2 separate regions of the Homo sapiens genome follow, and region 2 is linked to region 1. The links are contacts of gene promoters, found by promoter capture Hi-C in blood cells and fetal thymus (Javierre and others, 2016). All regions are on one chromosome and are shown on one strand. Each heading gives the region's core, a stretch centred on a gene start or on the middle of the fragment in contact. The rest is flanking DNA. Distances are from core to core; before and after follow the strand shown.

The links. Contacts are between HindIII fragments. The CHiCAGO score rates a contact against its expected background, and 5 or more counts as called.
Region 2: a contact is called between a fragment that was not itself captured here and the fragment with the promoter of SPR in region 1, in 1 of 17 cell types (fetal thymus). The highest score is 5.3, in fetal thymus.

What each region holds. Positions count from the first base shown.
Region 1 is chr2:72,886,128-72,890,005 of GRCh38, forward strand. It overlaps SPR (sepiapterin reductase), which reads left to right and starts at 1,281. Exons shown (of 3, transcript NM_003124.5): 1 at 1,281-1,609; 2 at 2,187-2,477. The coding sequence starts at 1,306. RefSeq lists silencers at 1,133-1,522, 2,161-2,335. The HindIII fragment of the contact is 9,789 bases long and covers 851-3,878 here.
Region 2 is chr2:72,768,279-72,771,884 of GRCh38, forward strand. The region is part of intron 1 of EXOC6B (exocyst complex component 6B); the gene reads right to left. Among named protein-coding and RNA genes, the nearest start is that of EXOC6B, 56 kb to the right of the region's middle. RefSeq lists an enhancer at 3,606. The HindIII fragment of the contact is 3,917 bases long and covers 329-3,606 here.

The sequences.
Region 1 (3,878 bases), core at 31-2,530:
GAGTCTTATCAGCGTTAAAATACCAAAAGCTTAAAAAACAATTAGCCAGGCGTGGTGGTGCGCACCTGTAATCCTAGCTACTCAGGAGCCTGAGGTGGAAGGATTGCTTGAGCCCAAGAATTCAAGGCTGCAGTAAACTGTGATCACACCTCTGCACTTCAGTTTGGGCCACAGAGCGAGACTCTGTCAAAAAAAAGAAAAAAGAAAAGAAAAAAGCCTTCCTCCAAGTTGTTTCTTCCTTAGAGTTGGCAATAATAGTGGAAAGGCGGTAACTTTGCTGTTTAGCCCCAGGGGAGGGATCAGCCCTGTGGGGAATTGGGCTAAGTTATCAGAGGTTACTTACTGCCCTTGCTAAACTCTAAAGAGATTCGTTTTTTAAAAACTGACACACAATATTTGGACATATGTATATACACAATGGAATACCACTCGGCCACTAAGAAGGAAACCATGAAGAGATTCCTTTTTAATATATGTAGCTGCATGCCAACTTGTCTCACGTTCCTCCTCTCCTAGAAAAAAAAAAATGTGGATTTTTCTGAAGCACCTGCCTGGAGGTACAGACAGATGATTGCGCAAACTTGAAGCTGAAAGTGGATGGAATTGCTGCCAGGGAGACTGTAGCATGAGCAGGAGCAGAATCCTGGGGAACACACTTTTAGGGACAGGAGTCAGAAATCTCAGAGAAGCAGGGGTTACTGGTGGGATCACGGAGCTGCTCAGGGCCTAGTAAAAGGGAAAGGTTTTAATATCATTTGGAGCCACTGTGGTTCTCCCAGAGGAAGCTCCTGTCATCCAGAGAGCGGTGAGCTCCCAAACAAGCAGAGACTTCAATTCCTAAACAGGCATAAGCTTCATTCAGGGTGTTCACTGGCCACGACCAGGGACGCCCAGCACCCAGTGCAGGGCCTGCCCTGGAAGAGGTCAGTAGTGCAAAGTTAGGGCTGGAACTGGGAGGAAATTCGAGCATGCGTCCCAGCCGGAGGCTGAGCTTGCGGGCGAAGAACACGGCAGCGCTGGGAACCGGGCTAGGGCTTTCCGTGTGGGCCGCGCCTGCCGGCCCTCTCTGTTGTCCCACTTGGCACGGACTGGGCTACCGCCACGGTTTGACTTCCGCCACCAGCAACCAAGGGAACCAGATCCCAAGGGAACCAGCACCCCTGGGCGCTCGCGGCCCGAAGCCTGAGGTTCCCGCCCCGCCCCGGCAGGGCGGCCCCGCCGACACCCGTAGCGGTCCCGCCCCCCGCGGCCGCACCGCCTCCTGCCTGGTCTCGGGTGCCAGCGCCGCCGGCGGAGAACAGGAGCATGGAGGGCGGGCTGGGGCGTGCTGTGTGCTTGCTGACCGGGGCCTCCCGCGGCTTCGGCCGGACGCTGGCCCCGCTCCTGGCCTCGCTGCTGTCGCCCGGCTCCGTGCTTGTCCTTAGCGCCCGCAACGACGAGGCACTGCGCCAGCTGGAGGCCGAGCTGGGCGCCGAGCGGTCTGGCCTGCGCGTGGTGCGGGTGCCCGCCGACCTGGGCGCCGAGGCCGGCTTGCAGCAGCTGCTCGGCGCCCTGCGCGAGCTCCCCCGGCCCAAGGGGCTGCAGCGACTGCTGCTTATCAACAACGCGGGTAAGACCCCGGGGCTGGAGCGGACTCCCCATGTGAGCGCCCACTTCCTCCACCGCTGGGGAATTTAAGGGCTACTCCTAGGGGTCAGATAGGACGCCTAGAAATCTAAAGCCCTAGTTGTTCCAGCTTGAGTAGCAAGTGGAGGCGAGGTGTACAGGAAGACTCGGTGCCGTCGGGACAACAGTCTGCCCCCACTTCCTGGAAAATTGGCCAGCCGGGTTTTCCAAAGCGCCTGTAGAACTTTCCCGAGCCCCTTGCTCTGCGCCCTCTGGCGGAGGCCTGAGTCAGGGCTTGGAGTCTCCAAACAAGTAAACTCTCTGCTTCTCCAAAGGACCGCTAGAGCTTTCCTTCAGCCCCACGGCAAGGCAGGTGCCTTCTCATTCTGCAGCTTGGGATGGCTAGGTTCCCCAGCTGTGTCTTTCCGCAGAGCTGGGGAAGAGAGAAGCCTCTTCAGAAGCGCTAGGCAGCTTCCTCCTCTAGGTCTGCATGGGAAGAGGATATCTGGAGGAACTTGGGAGGGCTGGGGAAGAAGAAAGCCCCGCCTGCACTGAGTTACTCCTAAGGGTTGGTTTTTCAGGCTCTCTTGGGGATGTGTCCAAAGGCTTCGTGGACCTGAGTGACTCCACTCAAGTGAACAACTACTGGGCACTGAACTTGACCTCCATGCTCTGCCTGACTTCCAGCGTCCTGAAGGCCTTCCCGGACAGTCCTGGCCTCAACAGAACCGTGGTTAACATCTCGTCCCTCTGTGCCCTGCAACCTTTCAAAGGCTGGGCGCTGTACTGTGCAGGAAAGGCTGCTCGTGATATGCTGTTCCAGGTCCTGGCGCTGGAGGAACCTAATGTGAGGGTGCTGAACTATGCCCCAGGTAGGTGGGAAGTCCTGCCGTCCCTGTCCTCCAGAACCCACTGGTGCGCCTCTGGGGGCTGGGCAAGCGGCCTAGTCCGCCCCCTCCAGGAAACAACCCACAGGATTTTGTCCTTGAATCTTGACCCATCACCCCTTAGGGGAAATACAGACCCAGGGGAAATAGAGGTGGCAGGGGCCGGGGATACTGGTAGAGAGTGAGGAGTTTCCTGGACTGGAGGGTGGGGCAGGAAGGTCTGAGGTATTAGATGGAGTTTGGGAGAAGACTGGGGTTTGAGTTCCAGGCCTTCCTCATGTGAAATGGGGAAGACGCTCCCTGCCTCACAGGGCACTTGGGAAGACTGAATGAGATACTGTATGTGAAAATGACCCTGACCTGTGAAGTGTTGCCTCATTGTTAAATAGGACTGACCACACTGTATTGTCTGCATATGTTTGCTTGCCTCCTTCCCTCCCTTGACAGGAAAGCCTTTGCACTATGCAGATGTGTGTTCCTAACACCTAGCAAAGCACTACACTAAGGCAAGCTGCAGGACATGCTAGCTGTATGGAGAGCAGACAGACTTTGTTGAGTGCTGACCATCCCTGGCTGAACTGTGCTGGAACACTATTGAGGATTCTGGGATAAATAGAATAGATCCCTTGCTCTCATGAACGCCAAAGGACAGGGAGTCTTGTGATACTGGGTCTAGTTTCTGATGCCACAGCGCCCCTGTCTTAATAGTGAGGAGTCTCTTTTAGGCTTGAGGTTGCTGCAATCAGAAGGTGGTGACAGAGCAGCCATGGAAAGCCTGAGCAACTTGGGCAGAAATCCAGTAGCCTGTGTCCCTGGGGAATAGGGTCAGGCTCCCAGGGCAGACAGGTAGAATGGCCTGCACAAAGCACAGATGTGGCAGGGCTGGATCCCACCTTGCTTTCAAGTTCTTCCTCATGTTCTCCAGTACCCCAGCCCCTACCACCCCTGCCCCCCAACACACATGCACAATTATTCTCACAACCAACATTCAACTCATCATCCACTCTGAATTCAGCCCAAGGATTCGCACAAACAACAGTGACCAAATGTAAGCTACAACCAGGAGCAGAGCAGACTCCAGAAGTCCACATGGCTGCGTTTGGTCTCAGGAGGCTGCCCTGGGCATTATGAGGGAGCTGAGATTTTCAGGAGGTCCCCAGGGCCTGAACCAAGGCAGAGGCCAGTCTGGTTTTCATTTCGGTCTCAGGAAGAATGTTCTAACAGGTGCTCAGAGATGGAATGGGCTGTTTGGAAAGGCAGCAAGTCCTCTCTCAGCAGGGATGCACAGGTCATTGGAAAATAGTCAAGGACCAGGAGATAAATTCTCCCTCCAACCCTGGAATTCTCTGATGTTCTGCCCTCGAGGACCATTAACTGCAAATATTG
Region 2 (3,606 bases), core at 1,037-3,536, 120 kb before region 1:
GAATGCAAGCTTTTTTTTTTTTTTTTTTTCGAGACAGAGTTTGGCTCTTGTTGCCCAGGCTGGAGTGCAATGGTGCGATCTCGGCTCACTGCAACCTCCGCCTACCGGGTTCAAGCCATTCTCTTGCCGCAGCCTCCCGAGTAGCTGGGATTACAGGCATGCGCTACCACCCCCGGCTAATTTTGTATTTTCTTTCTCCCCGGCTAATTTTGTATTTTGTTTCTCCATGTTGGTCAGGCTGGTCTCAAACTCCAGACCTCAGGTGATCCCCCCGCCTTGGCCTCCCAAAGTGCTGGGATTAGAGGCGTGAGACACTGTGCCCGGCCTAAGCTTTTTTTTTTTTTTTTTAAGTAAATAACATCTAACTGATATTATGAAAATATTTTTAAATCTGTAACTCTCCTGAAAGAAATTTTATCATTGTATAATTGTGCAGAAGCAATACTTAAAGACATCATAGCCAAGTATATCTAAAAACTTATGAAAGATATCAGTCCATAGTTTCAAGCCCTATAAACCCAAAGCATGATGAATGTAAAGAAAACTATACTTGGCCAGCCGTGGTAGTTCACACCTGTAATCCCAGCACCTTAGGAGGCTGAGGCAAGAATATTGCTTGAAGCCAGGAGGTCAAGACCAGCCTGGGCAACAAAGCTAAACCCTGTCTCTACAAAAAAAAATTAGCCAGGCACAGTGGCATGTGCCTATAGTCCCAGCTACTTGGGATTAGACAAGTTCTGGAGATAGGTGGCAGTTTTGGCTACAGAAAAATGTGAATATACTTAATGCCACTGAACTGTACACTTAAAAATGGTTAAAATGGTAAAGTATATGTTATGTATATTTTACTGCAATTTTAAAATAAGGTGAAATACAGACATTATTCATACAAACAAAATAAATGAGTCCTTCACTAAAAGAAATGCTAAAGGGAGTTCTGCATACAAAAGGAAAAGTGACCTCAGAATGAAGCACAGAGATGGAGGAGGAAATGAAGAATCAAACAAAAGAGTAAACATACATGAATGGTGACTCTACGAAATAATAAGGATAATGTTGTGTGGGAACAAAATTACATGTAAAATTAAAATTCATGACAACAGTGTAAGATGTAGGAAAGGATAAATGAAAAAGTGTTACATATTCCTAGCAGTGTCAAGGAAGTGATAAAAATATTAATTTATATTATACTCTGAGTCAAGGATACATGCTGAAATTCTTTGAGTAATGTCTAATAACTAAAAAAGGAAGGGCCAGGCCCAGTGGCTCACACCTGTAATCCCAGCACTTTGGGAGGCCAAGGCGGGCAGATCACCTGAGGTCAGGAATTCGAGACCAGCCTGGCCAACATGGCAAAACTCTGTCTCTACTAAAAATACAAAAATTAGCCGGGTGTGGTGACACGTGCCTGTAATCCCAGCTACTCGAGAGGCTGAGACAGGAGAATTGCTTGAACTCAGGAGGTGGAGGTTGCAGTGAGCCGAGATCGTGCCACTGCACTCCAGCCTGGGCGACAGAGCAAGACTCCATCTCAAAAATAAAATAAAATAAAATAGAAAGAAGAAGAGTCAATAGACAGCCAAAAATAATAAGAATCAAGAATAAGCACTTAGGGAAAAAGAAAAACCAGCAAGTATCAGACTTCTCCACAGCAACATTGAACACCAGAAGACAAGATACTCAAGGAAACAAAACATGAGCCAAGAACTTTAATTTCAACCAAGCTAGCCTTTAAATATAAAGTCTATAGAGCTAAAATTTGAATATACAATAACTCAAAAATTGTTGTTCACATAAGTCCTTCTTAAGGCAACTACTAGAGGAGGAACACAAACCCAACTAGATGACAGGGAAAACTTCAATAAAAAAGAATGTCAATGAAGACTGAATATATTTAACTGCAACTCTAAGACAAAAACAAGGTCAGATTAAAAGTGATCAAGTATGATACATAAAAATAGTACATAAAAATTATACAACTAAGAAAAAAAAGAGAGAAGATAGAAAGTAGAATAAACTAGTCAACTATCTTATACCAGTAACTGTGAGCCAAAGCTAGGCAAATCAACTACAGGTCTACAATCCCTAATCGAAAATCCTTGTAGCAAAATGTTTCATAATACCAAATTCTGTACATTTAAAAAAAATACAGCTCATCTGTCACATATTATGTAACATCCCAGTAAGATCTTAAGCATTCCATAATCAAACACATTCATATTTCAGCAGTAAAATATAGGAATATTCACAAAAGTGGTAAATATAAAGATTATTAATATATTAAGTCAATTCACATCAGGTTTTCTTGCCAAATGAATTAAGGCAGATTTTGACAACAAATAGTTTTTAGAGCCTTTAGGATTTGGGGATTACAAATGAGAGATTATGGGCCAAATCAAGTATGCTTGACTACAAAGTAAAGCACTAAGATAATACTATTCCCTGATATTTAATGCTAAGAGGAAAGAATAACAGAAGAGTACACAAGTTAAGTTTCATTGTTGCCCTTGGGTGAGAAATCAGTAAATATTACCTTCAGAGAGAGACAGAGAGAACTGAGGATGCAATACAAAGGAACCACAAGAACAAAAATACAATTTTTTAAAAATTCAAAGAAAAAAAGGAAGCCATTAGATATGGCTTCATGGTAGTGTCTTCCCCCTCGCCCCCAGAAAAATTATTTGACTTGACACTAAGTTGTTTTTAAATAATGATTATAGTGCTCTTCATTTCCAACTTACTACACTTGGAAGAAACAATTGCTGATGAGCATAAAGTCACTAGGGGGCAGCAGAGCATAAAGAGTATCCTCTGAAAAGTGGTGACAACTACAAAGTTATTACATAACCAGAAGTGTCTTCAACTGCTGAAAACATTTCATACTCATCACAAGCACAATAAAACACTCGCCAATTAATTTGTAAAAATTGCTTCTAAGATATTCATTATATTCTTTATAATTGTTGTAATTTTTATTTTGAAATAATTTCACATTGCACAGAACTCTTGTATAGCCTTTATGCAGAGTTCACTAATTTTTGCCATATTTGTTTTATCATTCTCTCCCTACATATATATGCATGCTTATTTTTCTAAACCATTTGTAAGTAGGCTTCATATATCATGCCTGTAAAACTATAGTCTGTACCTCCTCTCTCTTACATAATGATAGTACCATTATGAAATTCAAGAAATTTACATTGATACAATTATATCTAACCCACAGTCCAAATTCCAATTTTGAAGATTATCCCAATAATGCTCTTTAGAGCATTTTCATTTCCTACTGGAAAGTATCCAGTCTAAGATCATGAATTACATTTTGTGGTCATGTCTCTTCAGTTTCTTTTTATCTAAACAAGCAGCCAAATTTATGGACAAAAGACTACTTTACATTATTAAAAATTACTGAGAGCCTGGATGTGGTAGCTCACATCTGTAATCTCAACATTTTGTGAGGCCAAGGTGGAAGGATCGCTTCAGGCCAGGAATTCAAGCCCAGCCTGGGCAACATGGTGAGACCATATCTCTAAAAAAGAAAGAAAAGAGGAAAAATAAAAATTACTGAGTACCCTAAAGAGCTTTTGCTTATATGAATTATATATA